Linked DNA regions of Homo sapiens: all the other regions are linked to region 3. Evidence: promoter capture Hi-C in 16 types of primary human blood cells and fetal thymus (Javierre and others, 2016). All regions are on one chromosome and are shown on one strand. Each heading gives the region's core, a stretch centred on a gene start or on the middle of the fragment in contact. The rest is flanking DNA. Distances are from core to core; before and after follow the strand shown. Region 1 holds the start of STPG1 (sperm tail PG-rich repeat containing 1). Region 2 overlaps STPG1 (sperm tail PG-rich repeat containing 1). Region 3 holds the start of SRSF10 (serine and arginine rich splicing factor 10).

What was found. The method cuts DNA at HindIII sites, captures the fragments that hold promoters and counts their contacts. A CHiCAGO score of 5 or more calls a contact.
Region 1: a fragment that was not itself captured here is called in contact with the fragment with the promoter of SRSF10 in region 3 in 1 of 17 cell types (M2 macrophages); the score reaches 7.1 in M2 macrophages.
Region 2: a fragment that was not itself captured here is called in contact with the fragment with the promoter of SRSF10 in region 3 in 1 of 17 cell types (M2 macrophages); the score reaches 5.6 in M2 macrophages.

The regions. Positions count from the first base shown.
Region 1 is chr1:24,410,099-24,414,212 of GRCh38, reverse strand. It overlaps STPG1 (sperm tail PG-rich repeat containing 1), which reads left to right and starts at 431. Exons shown (of 9, transcript NM_001199013.2): 1 at 431-539. It also overlaps a transcript of NIPAL3 not described here. RefSeq lists an enhancer at 816-935. The HindIII fragment of the contact is 5,021 bases long and covers 1-4,114 here.
Region 2 is chr1:24,391,717-24,396,309 of GRCh38, reverse strand. The region is part of intron 2 of STPG1 (sperm tail PG-rich repeat containing 1); the gene reads left to right. Among named protein-coding and RNA genes, the nearest start is that of STPG1, 20 kb to the left of the region's middle. RefSeq lists an enhancer at 4,003-4,252. The HindIII fragment of the contact is 2,681 bases long and covers 2,003-4,593 here.
Region 3 is chr1:23,978,082-23,982,370 of GRCh38, reverse strand. It overlaps SRSF10 (serine and arginine rich splicing factor 10), which reads left to right and starts at 2,044. Exons shown (of 6, transcript NM_054016.4): 1 at 2,044-2,180; 2 at 3,554-3,658. The coding sequence starts at 2,116. RefSeq lists enhancers at 1,720-1,769, 836-1,826, 1,780-2,109, 2,540-2,589, 1,827-2,817. The HindIII fragment of the contact is 15,744 bases long and covers 333-4,289 here.

The DNA of each region.
Region 1 (4,114 bases), core at 946-3,445, 430 kb before region 3:
GAATAGCCTGGCGTGGTGGCGAGCGCCGGTAATCCCAGCTACTCAGGAGGCTGAAGCAGGAGCATCGCTTGAACCTGGAGGGCGGAGGTTGCAGTGAGCCAAGATTGCGCCACTGCACTACAGCCTGCTCGACAAAGCGAGACTCTGTCTCAAAAAAAAAAGAAACAGGGCTTGGATGAATGTTAATTCTTTTAGGTATATTCCTTGAAGCAGGATTTTTGAGTGAGCAAAATTCTGAGGCTTTTGGTTTATCACAAGATTTTTGAAGCATGGCCTAGATAAACCTCTTATTAGTTCCCCACCCCGCTACAGGCCCTGATGTAATTAACCTAAGCCCTAAAATTCGGCCGGCTTCTCTGCGGACTTTGAAACGCCTCTAATGATTGGTCAACAACTTTTCACGTTAAAGAAACAGAGGATGCCATTGGCTGGAGTTACCTCGCGGACGGCGGAAGGTGGACTCGCGAATGTTAGGCCTGTGGGTGCCATAGCGACCGGGAGGTTGGGCTGGCCAGATTCAGCTGCCGGGACCGGACCAGGTAGGAAGCAGTTCCGGCGGGGGGACCGGTCCCTGAGGTCGTGGGGAAGAGGACACGGCGCACCATGTCCTCCGCATGGGACGCCCGCGGAGACCCCCCGGCCTCCGGGTGCTTGCGGAATTCCAGGGCTGAGCTAGGTGGAGCCCCGAGGGCGGGAAGAAGCCACCATGGGAGTTGCCCCTGCGTCGGGGCGTGTCCTCGGTGTTTCCACCCGAAAAGTGGTGACAACTGGGGCTTGCCTGCTCCACCGAGCTCCTGCCAGGGGCGTGGGCGTCCGACCCTTCTGGCTCAGGCTCCGCGAGTGCGCAAAAGTTGGGAGGCTTCAGTGCCTGGCAGTGGGTGGACGCCAAAGACCTGATCTCTACTCATAGGTTCACCCCAGCTCAGGGGGTGTCCCCCAGCAAACGACTTCCCTGCTCTGGGCCTCGATTTACCCATCTGTAAAATAAAAGGGTGAGATTGGAACCTGGTGGTCACTAGCCCGCCGCTAAATTTCCTTCCAGCTCCCTGATACACTTTCTCAGCCTATGAAGACTATCGAATGGGTTATTTACCTGAGAGTGCTTTGAAAAAATGTAAGCTGCTTCCAAGATGCTTATAACTGAGTAGATAAAAATCGCCTACAGACGAAACTACTCAGGACATCCAAAAAAATTCTATCTAAAGTAACAGTATACATAGTTTAGTACATGTTTATATACCCTGTACAGTAACATGTATAATGTAAACTGTAATACTTAGCATATATAACGTTTTTTAAAAACACAAGAGATGATAAAATGAAACTGTGCCTATAGTTGTGATCATGTGAGCTGTCCTTGTAGAATCTAACTCCCGCTGGAAATATATTCTGAGCACAGCTGTACACACAATTGCTAAAAGGTGTCTACCTCTAGTATTCATTCATTCATTCATTCCACCAATATTTATGAAGAAAATACTAATTTTAAAAATTCTCAATACTATTATTATTATTTTTGTAGAGACAGGGCCTTGCTATGTTGCCCAGGGTAGTCTTGAACTTCTGTCTCAAGCCATCCTTCCCCCTCAGCCTCTCAAAGTGCTGGGATTACGGGTGTGGGCCACCATGCCTGGCCAATTGAGCAAATACTGTATGTGAGGAAATAGACTGAAGATTCAGAGTTGAACTTTCTACTGGGGAAGATCATAAACAAATAAAGTAATAAACATACAATATAATGTTGGGTAGTGAAAAGTGCTTTGAAAAAGATAAAGCAGAGTAAGGGGCTAGAGAGAGATGGGTTGGTGCTTCTTAAGAGAGGGTGGTCAGGGAAGTCATCCCTAAGAAGGTTTGAGCAGAGAGTCTCGTGAATTTTGTGACAGGACTGCAGGACGATGCCTGGGTCCGGTGAGGAAAGGAGCTCCCCATGCAGCAAGGAGATATGTGGCAAAAGCCAGGGAGGTCCCATGTGGAGAAGAAGATTAGTCTTTAGGTGGTGGGGCACGACAACTGCCTTCAAATTCTTGCAGAATAGTCATATAGAACAGTGGCTTTCAAACCTTTTGACTGTGACTCATGGTAAATGCATTTTATATTGTGACCCAGCATGCACACACGCATATGACAAACTAAAACTTCACAAAAGACTACAGACTATGACTTGCATTTTGAAAATCACCAATGTGGAAGAGAAATGAGACTTACTTTGAGTTGGTTCCAAGGGTGGGAATTAGGACGGATAGAAAAAGAAAAAAAGAGAGAGAGAATCAGCTTTGATACAGGAAGGAACTTTCTAGCAATTAGAACTGTCCAACAGTGAACTTCCCCCAGGAGTTTTTAAACTGTGTTCTGATGAAACCTAGCATTCTGTGAATATTCAAGAGAGTCAAATATTTGCCCCCACCCAGCCATCCCTTATTTGCTTTATATTTTGAAAACTATATGCAATATTGTAACTTCAGAAACCCAACCAGGTAAGGCACGGTGGCTCACTGTAATCCCAGTGCTTTGGGAAGCTGAGGTGAGAAGATCACTTGAGGCTAGGATTTCGAGACCATCCTGGGCAGCATAGGTGAGACATTGTCTTTACAAAAAATTTTAAAACTAGCCAGGTGTGGTGGCAGGTGTCTGTAGTCCTAGCTACTCTGGAGGCTGAGGTGGGAGGATCACTTGAGCCTAGGAGTTTGAGGTTGCAGTAAGCTATGATTGCACCACTGCACTCTAGCAAGTGGACGACACAGCAAGATCCTATTTCTAAAAATAATAATAACAAACCAATCATACCCACTCGGGTGCTAAATGTCAAAATTTAGCAAGTTAATATTTAGTGTGTGCTGCCTGAGAGGTTATTATAGAGGTTAAGGAGTGAGTAGAAGTCAGACTTCCTGAGTTCAAAGCCTGATTCCACTTTTCTTCTAATGTGACTTTGGGCAAGTCACTTAACCCCCCACCAAACTTAAGTTTTCTCATCTGTAAAAAGTGGGGATTATACCTCACTGGATTATTATAAAAATTGCATAAGGTATTCCATAGAAGGCATTTAGGACTGTGCAGGCTCAATAAATGATAGCTATTATTTTAAGTTGTTAATACGATATCCCTGTGCGTATATTAAAACCCTACATTAATACAAGCCTACTGCAGGATAGGCAGTGTTAACCACTTCACATGGATCAGCCTAAGAGGAAGGTACTGTTATCACTCCCAGTTTATGGAGGAGGAAATAGGCTCAGAAGTTTAAGTGACTCATCGAGAATCAGAGCTATTAAGTGGCAGGCCATAACCTTGAACCCAGGACTGGATACTCTGGACTGCTGCGCTGGCCCCCACGTAGGAATCGCTTAAACATATGTTGTTGATTCGGAAAGTGGTATATCTTCACTGCTCTTTCTTAGATTCTAGGTCCATGCCATCCTGTCATGGACAGTTATACAGGTGGACCAGTGAGGCACACCTGGGCAGTGCTCTGTTCACATCTGTCCTGCACCTGCTCTCATCCTGCCTTCACAGGTATGCAGTGAGAAGACTGGAAAGCATTATTAACAGTGTGGTCTTTTGGTGGTAGGATTGGGGATTGTTTTTTATTTGTTTGTTTGTTTGTTTTGAGACGGAGTCTCGCTCTGTTGCCCAGGCTGGAGTGCGGTGGCGCGATCTTGGCTCACTGCAATCTTCACCTCCTGGGTTCAAGCGATTCTCCTGCATCAGTCTCCTGAGTAGCTGGGACTACAGGTGCACGCCACCATGTCCAGCTAATTTTTGTATTTTTAGTAGACATGGGGTTTCACTGTGTTAGCCAGGATGGTCTGGATCTCCTGACCTCATGATCCGCCCACCTCGGCCTCGCAAAGTGCTGGGATTACAGGTGTGAGCCACAGCGCTCGGCCATGGATTGCAGATTGTTTAAAGTTTTTTTGTAATTTATCATATTTTCTTAAATGTTGACAGTGTACATACATTATTATTATAGTAGTCCTCCCTTATTCAAGGGGGATATGTTCCAAGACCACCAGTAGATGCCAGTGAAACAGTGGATAATACCCAAACTGATTACTGTCAATCAGACTGTTTCTGTTCATATCTTCCACTCACAAATTTAATGCTTTTTCCATCTTAA
Region 2 (4,593 bases), core at 2,094-4,593, 410 kb before region 3:
ATAGATAGATGATAGATAGATAGATAGATAGATAGATAGCTATAGATGGATAGATAGATAGACAGATATGTACTATCTGGCCCTTAGAAAAAGTTCGTTGATCCCTACATACTTTAGAGTTTATAGTATATATCTTTAACTTATCATGGTCTACCATCAAGTGATATTATAACACTTCACATATAGTAGAAGAACCTTAAAACAGTATATTTTTATTTTTCCCTTCCTGGCCTTTATGTTATTGTTGTTAAACATTTTACTTGTACATATGGTATAAACCCTACAAAACAGTTGTTATTTTTGCTTTACATAAATTTTTTTTTTTTTGAGATGGAGCCTTGCTGTGTCGCTCAGGCTGGGGTGCAGTGGCGCAGTCTTGGCTCACTGTAACCTACACCTCCTGGGTTCAAGCAATTCTCCTGATTCAGCCTCCTGAATAGCTGGGATTACAGGCACCTGCCACCATGCCTGGCTAATTTGGTGAGGAGGCCTCCCAAAGTGCTGGATTACAGGCTACCACACCCGGCCAGTAATCATTACTTTTTAAATGTTTAAAATGTTATATTTAAATTATTCAAGGCTGGGTTTGGTGGCTCATGCCTGTAATCCCAGCACTTTGAGAAGCCGGGGCGGGCAGATCATGAGGTCAGGAGATCGAGACCATCCTGGCTAACACGGTGAAACCCCGTCTCTACTAAAAATACAAAAAATTAGCCGGGCGCGGTGGCGGGCGCCTGTAGTCCCAGCTACTCGGGAGGCTGAGGCAGGAGAATGGCGTGAACCCGGGAGGCAGAGCTTGCAGTGAGCCGAGATAGCGCCATTGCACTCCAGCCTGGGCGCAAGAACGAGACTCCGTCTAAAAAAAAAAAAAAAAAAAAAAATTGTTCAATTTATACTCATAATTTTATATTTTCTATTTACCCACATATTTACTATTTCCAGAGCTTCATTCCTTTATGTGATTCAGATTTCCTACTGGTATCATTTTCTTTGGCCTGAAGGGCTTCCCTTAACATTTCTTGTAGCTCCCATTTGCTGATGATTCTTTCAATATTTATATAGTTTTAAAAGTTTTTATTCTGCTTTTGCTTTTGAAGATATTTTTACTGAGTACAGGATTCTAGGGTGACAGGTTTTTTTTTTCCTTTTATTGCCTTAAAGGTGTTGTTTTCAGTATCAATCTGCTGTCATTCTCGTATTTGTTTCTTCATATGTGACATGTCTTTTTTCTCTGCCCAATTTTAACATTTTCTTCTTATCACTTTTTAAGCAATTTGATTATGGTTGGCCTACGGTGTCATTTTCTTCATGTTTCTTGTATTTGATGTTAAGTGACTTTCTTGAATCTGTGAGTCAATAGTTTTTTTAATCAAATTTGGAAAAATTTCAACCATTTTTTCTTGAACTATTTTTTTCTATTTCTTCTCTCCTCATATTTCTTTTTTTGAGAGCCTGATTACATATATATTAGGCTCCTCAAAGTTTCCACACAGCTCACTAATCCTTTTTCTTGTCCTTTTTCTGTTTTATTTTGTATAGTTTTATTTCTAGGTCTTCAAGTTTACTAATCTTTTTTTCCTCTAATGTCTAATTTGCTATTCATCTCATCTAGTGTATTTTTAATCTCAGACATTTAGTTTTCACATCTGGTAGTTCGATTTGGATCTTGTCATTATATCTTCCATATCTACTTAATATGTTCAGTCTTTTCTCTGGCTTCTTGAACATATGAAATACAGTTAGTGCAGCAGTTATAATGTTCTTCTCCACTAATTCTATCATCTGTATCATTTCTGAGTTGGTTTTGATCATTTATTTTCTCCCCACTTTGAAGTATATTTTTCCTTCTTCCTCCTATTAATTTTTTATCAATGCCAGGTATTTTGAATTTTACCTCTTAGGTGCTATTTTTGTAGTCCCATAAATATTCTTGTGCTTTGTTCTGAGATGCAGTTAAATTATTTGGAGACAGTTTGATCTTTTCAGGTCCTGCTTTAAAGCTTTGTTAGCTGGAACCAGAGCAGTATTTAGTCTAGGGGTAATTTTGCCCCATTTCTGAGGCGAAACCCTCCTGCATACTCTATGTTCCATGAATTATGAGGTTTTCCCGCTGTGACTCATGAAAACAGGAGCTATTCCCGGCCCTGTGGAAGCCTCAGGGATTGCTCACTTGAATTCTGCCAGGCGGTTCCTTCTCCAGCCCTGGGTAGTTTTCTCATGCCATGTGTTGGTCAATACCCAGGAACTTACTCAGGGGACCCCGTTGCAGAGCTCCATAGCTCTCCATCTGGGTAGCTCTCTCTTCTCTGGTACTCTGCTCTGTGAACTTAGCTGTCTTGGTCTTTCTGGACTCCCAGATCTATTTCCTCAACTCAGGAAGACCACGGGGCTCCATCTGGATCCCTTCTTCCTGTGCTGTGGTCTTGAGATTTTCTCCTGGCAGAAAGCTGGGGACCATCTTATTGCCAACCTCATTTACTTTGCTTCTCTCAGGGATCCCTGTCCTTTGTTGCCTGATGTCCAGTATCTTGATTGCTTTATATATCTTGCCCATTTTTAACTTTTTTTTTCCAGCTGGGAGGGCAAATCTAGTCCTGTTTTGGTAAGAAATAGGAGTTCAGTCATCCAGAGTGTTTTTCAAAAATTCTACTTTTTAAATTGTTTCATCAAGAGGGCTGCTCTGACACATGCATTTCTGTTATAGCCAGAAGCCTTGGATCTCCTTTCCAGTCAGGCAGAAACCTCTCCTTTCCCCAGGAGAATGTCCTTCCTTTAACCTTTTTTAAATAACTCTCTTTTTACTGCCTCCTCTGCACACTCTCTTAGCTGTTCTATAGGCTTAGGCTTTTAGAAACAAAAGCCAGGAAGTCTTGCAGCTGCTTCTGCCTTTTGATTTGCTGTATAGCTCTCTTAAAGCAAACAAACCAAAAACATAGCCATTCATCTACTTAAATGGGGAGGGGAGGAGAAGAATACATTTACTGTATATTGGTATCCCCAAATATTTTCTACTTAAACACGTATTCAGCTCCTTTTACTTGCTTCATCCTCCACCCAGGCAGATTAGGCTTCAGTGTCCCTCTCCCCATCGTGTTTATTGAGCACTTACTAGAGGCCAGCTCAGGAAGAGGAAGCACAGCTCAGAGCTCAAGAGCCTGGACTCATTAGGCAAATCATGTTCACACCCTACCTGTTCCGCTTAAGTGCTGGGTGATTCGGATGAGTAACTTAATCCCTCTAAGCCTCAGTTTCCTCAACTGTGAAGCTGGTTCATGATTGTACCCCTTGAGGGGTCCCTGTTGTCTTCAGGCTTCCTGCTCTGAAAAGGAGTATTGTTTTTTAAAAAAATTCAGAGATGAAGAAATGAGCCTTACTGATAGTTTCCATACAAACCACCCTCTGTCATGGCTAACACATACTTTCTTCTTTCCTTCTCTTGACTGTTTTTTTTCCCCCATTTCTGCGCGTATTTCCTCTCTGAAGGTTAGGATTCTGATGTTAAAATAATTTGGCTTACTGTTGTGAACAGCCTACAGAGTCAGGATGCACCCCCCCACCCAAAATTTGGTTTGGATGTCAAGACTTACGGTGCCACACACACGCTCATGAAGAGTGTAGGAAAAGGCTTATCACCCACATAGTGAGGCCTTCTGAGGACAGCAGCACAGCCTTCCTAACCTGATCCAATAATGGCTTGAGAGAGCAGGGAAAGGAGCCTGGCTTGGGGGTTTTCTTATGGTTGGAAAGCGAGGCTGGACTGAGGGCAGGGGTCTGCGTGGTTTGAACTTCCAGCTGGTGCCACAGGAGGGAGCTCTGGGCTTTCTCATCCGCTTGCCCAGTGGTAGGGCAGAAGGGAATGAGGGAGTGGTGAAGCTGAAGAGCTATCAGCCATCAAACATCAAAAAACTGGAGTCAGAGTCCATTACACTTACAGGTTAGAGTCTATAATCAACCTGCTATGCAGACAGATGCTGCCAAGTTCTAGCAGTTGTGGAAGTCTCAGCAGGAGGGGAGTTTATACATCAGACATGCATGTATACATCGCAGCCTAGACAAAGGAACTTTTAACTTCAGTTTCTATAGATGATCCCTTTCTGCTTTTTAACCCCATGTCTGCTCAAAACAGAAACGAAAACTTACACCTGTCTTGCACAGTGCCCTGAAAAGTGAGAGCCAGCCCCAGGCTGGGATTTCCCTAACCTCTTTGGATTTTAACGGCCTAATGCTGGTGTCTGAATCTAGGCCAAGGAGCAGTGAGGACGCTTCCTCTGTCCTGACCGCGCCTCGTCCAGGCTGCTCCCAGAATAGTTTTGCTGTCTCCTTCCTGCCTGGCAAGAATGTCTTTACTATCATCTCCTTCCTTTTCTCCGGGACAGCCTGTTTAAGGTACTTTATGTGACCACATCTCACTAATTTAAGAGCTGGAGGGGGGAAGTCCGATAAATTGCCGAGAGGGAAAGAAAGTGGGGAATTTTTTTTTTAATCCGGTTTCGTGTCTGTTTCCTGTCAAAAGGCAAGTTTCTCTTCTCTACCATTTAAAATAAAACTTTAATATACACCTTTGTGTTTTCCACATTTGTCAATCATTGTTTT
Region 3 (4,289 bases), core at 795-3,294:
CATCTCTACTGAAAACAGAAAAATTAGCCAGGCATGGTGGCAGGAGCCTGTAGTCCCAGCTACTCGGGAGGCTGACGTAGGTGAATCGCTTGAACCCAGGAGGCGGAGGCTGCAGTAAGCCAAGATCCAGCCACTGCATTCACGCCTGGTCAACAGAGCAAGACTACATCTCAAAAAATAAAATAAAATAAAAATAAGTAAAAATCAAAAACAAGAAAAAACCTATCACATTACTGTTTCTTTCATATAACAAACCTGCATTTACTTTATTTTCTCATTGCCATCGCCCTAGAAATATAAGCTGTATGTTTTTCATTACTGAATTTCAAGCTTCTAGCACAATGTCTGACACATAACAGGGAATCAAACTTTTTTTTGTTTTGTTTTGTTTTTCACATCACCCTCCCAAAATGCTGGGATTTTGGGGCCACCTTGCCTGGCCCAACATTTTAATAAATTAAGCATGCAAATCTTGGGAAACAAAAATTTAGAATAGCTCTGCTACAGAGTGCTACAAACTATCATCACCTGTATCGAATCACTTAATTGTCTTAGATGCTGATTGACACAAAAATAATGCCTTTATGACTTTTTATTAAATAAAAGTTCATTTAATTTAACAGTACTTGAGTCCCTGCTACCTGCTTGGCACTGTGCCACACGCTGGAGGCATTCCAACTGAAGTCTCTCATCTCCAGAAGTTGACTCTTATCGAGCAGGAAATGGCTCTCAAAAGGGCCTCCAAAATCAAAACCATACTAAAGATTATTTGCTATTTTCATGCTCATTCTCTTACAAACGTGGAGTTTTCCAGAGGGTACATGATGTGTGATAAAGGGTAGTGGAGTGTGTCAAAGTTTTCTCTATTTTTTTTTTTTTTCTTTTTTGAGACGGAGTCTCACCCTGTCGCCCAGGCTGGAATGCAGTGGTGCAATCTCGGCTCACTGCAACCTCTGCCTCCCGAGTTCAAGCGATTCTTCTGCCCCAGCCTCCCAAGTAGCTGGGATTACAGGCGCGCGCCACTACGCCTGGCTAATTTTTGTATTTTTAGTAGAGATGGGGTTTCACTGTGTTGGTCAGGCTGGTCTCAAACTCTTGACCTCGTGATCTGCCCGCCTCGGCCTCCCAAAGTACAGGGAGGGATTACAGGCGTGAGCCACCGAGCCCAGCCGAAGTTTCCTCTATTTTAAGTTCTCATTAACTATTTATTAATAGGTATAACCCACACTTTTTTTAAAAAAAGCTCTTTGGAATCTTCCGTAATACACAAGAATATAAAGGCGTTCTGAGACCAAAAAGTTTGAGAACTGCTGCAATACAGGTCCGATGCATACCCAGGAAGCCGTCAGCAACAAAGAATACACTACAAATGACCACAGTCATGAACCTACAGTGTGAGGTTTGGTCCCACCCAGGTTGGGAGCCAAATGCGTGACTAAGTGGAGATGGCTAGGGTGTGGGTGAGGGGCAAAGGCAGGCTGAAAACACTGGAGAGACAGGCCCAGCTCTGCGCAAGGGCACACACCTCCTTCCTTTACACACTCAATACAAGCTGTAAATCCTTCTTTCGCAGGTCAGGGCATAACCTGGACCAAACGGGAAATTTAAGGCAAAATAAAAGCAGGACATTAACTTGGACCAACCGGGAAATTTAAGGCAGCCTCTCTGAACTAAATAGTTTAAAAATCTGTCCATTTAGTAGTAACCGCAAAGTTTGGCCTAGAGACTAAAACATCTGCTTCCTGATTTGGGGGTGGAGATGAAGTGGAGTGTAAGGTAGAAAACGGCGGGAAATGAAGACCTAAAGAAAGAAAGAACAGGCTTGGGGGAGGGTAAGAGGCACCGCAAGAAGCCAACGAATGACACCGACGCTGAGGCGCGTGCGCCAGCCCTCCGCATGCGCAGGCGGACGCCTGGTGTTCTCGCGGGAAAGAACCGTTGCGCCCGACTTTGCGCGGAGGTAGGAGGGGGAAGTGGAGGCGGGAGTGAAGTCTCGCGAGAAGAGTCGGTTGCCGTAGCAGAGCCCTCTAGCTGTGTGTGTCTGAGGCTCGGCCGCCTGAGCCGCGGACGGTTTGCTGAGCCCGTTAGTGCGCCCGGCCGAGACACGCCGCCGCCATGTCCCGCTACCTGCGTCCCCCCAACACGTCTCTGTTCGTCAGGAACGTGGCCGACGACACCAGGTAGGTACAAGGCAGGTACTCCGGGCCTAGGCGGGGAGGCCGCAGGCGCCTGGAGAGGACCCTGGTGGTGGCGGCACTGGGCCGGGGGAGGGGACGGAGTGAAGATGGCGGGTCCCGCGCCCGCTTTGGCGCCGAACTAGGCCGCGCAGCGGGCCTCAGCCGCCGCGTGGGAGCGAGGGCGGCGCCTCTGCCTTCGCCGGGCCGCGTGGCGGGGTTTTTCGGTCCCCCTCCCCCTCCGCAGTTTGCAGCCCCTTTCTCCCTGCTTCCTGCCGGCGCGAGCAGCCCCCCGCCGCGGCCTTTCCGCGACCCGACGGCCGCCCCCCATTGATTTGAAGTTCACATTCTTCGAGGTTCACGCCCCCTTGGCCCAGAGATTTTTTTTTTTCCCCAGCCAAAAAATAGTGAGATGAAATAACGGGATCGAGGGAGAGGAATGTTGCTACCATTTATCTTTGTTGTTGTTGCCGTTGTTAATATTTGGGGGTTTTAATCAGTTGGAGGTGTTTGGAGAAAGGGAGCGTTGAGATTTGGGGAGTTAGATTTTTCCAGTTAAATGTTGCGAGTAGTTTTTCTTATTTCCTGGAAATTCTGGTCACCCTTTGAAAAGGGAGGTTTGGGAAGCGTCAGTCATTAGGACGTTGACAGCTAAGTTAGATTAATTCAGACGTACCTTAAATAGGCTTTGTTCTCACCATTCCCTTGTTTCGAGTTGCCTTCAGATTATTTTGGAAGAGTTCTTACTACAAGATGAGGCTTTTTATTTCACAAATAATGAATCTACACACAGAAAATAAGTGGTTTGGGTTTTTGGTGTTTCGTGGGGGTTTTTTGCTAGCTTTGTGATTTGCTTTTGTCTTAAATTTAAGAAGGAAAGAAAGCAATAATTCTTTCCATAAATAATTCTTTCCATAATTTCTAATAGTTACGTTAGCATCTAGAGAAATTTTCTCTTTACGTCATCTTGACACTTAACTATTTAAGAAGTTCGATATTTGTGACTTTTTCAGACCATATTTATCTACTGTTAAGTGTGTAAATCTGTCGCTAAAATTGGGGAGTAAAAATAAGTGCTTGGTATTTTTCAGAGTGCTAGAGTCGATTTGATGCTGTAAAAGTAAAAAAAAAAAAAAAAACAAGGCTTATATACAACCTAATGCTGCTGTACCTTTTATGAAAAATGACGGCTGTAGATAAAAATAAGTTGTGGTCATTCCCTTGTACCATACATATGTCTGCTGTTGTCCTGTTAATGTAAACTGCATTTTTATCTTCCAAATTCTTGGATCCTAGCTTTCCTTCATCAAAAAGATATATTGCCTATACATCTTAAGGACTTGGACATAAAAATTTGAGGTCTTTTTATGATGTTTTAGGTCTGAAGACTTGCGGCGTGAATTTGGTCGTTATGGTCCTATAGTTGATGTGTATGTTCCACTTGATTTCTACACTCGCCGTCCAAGAGGATTTGCTTATGTTCAATATCCTTTCTTCAGATGGCTGATTAGTGAGGGGTGTTGAAGTTTGAAATTCAAGTTTATGTAAGTGGTAACATCTAAAAAGTAGTTCTTTTTGTCCTCTAATAAATGTCTGTCTTCAAATTTTTGAAAATTAATTCTGACTCACACATTGCTCTCGTTATTAAAGTTAATCCAAAAATGGTAAAATATATAAATTCCCATTCATGCTTCTGAAACTCATATCGATGATTATATATGTGATTTAAATTTGAATGCACTCTGGTTGCTACTACCTTTAATGTAAGTCCTTTAAAAGTTAATATGTTCTTGTGCTTAGCAATTAAAATTTGGTATTCTTGTTTGTTAATTTGAATCACTTGATCAAAAACAAATTGTATAACAATGAGGTAAACTTCTTTAATATTGTCCCCTAATTTGCTGTCCTCTGTTGTTACCTCAGAGAATGTAAAGCTGTACAGTTATGGCGACCCCAAAGAGAAAGCATGAAAGAACCTTTAGAGTAGAGTTCAACACTTAAGGCAAGTAGACAAGCCAAAGACCTCTTAAGGATCAGGCTTGAAGAGAAGGGAGAGTTTGGGAAAAGAAAAAATAAAGAAAAGCTGGAAGAAGGACAAGCCTAATGGGAGACAAA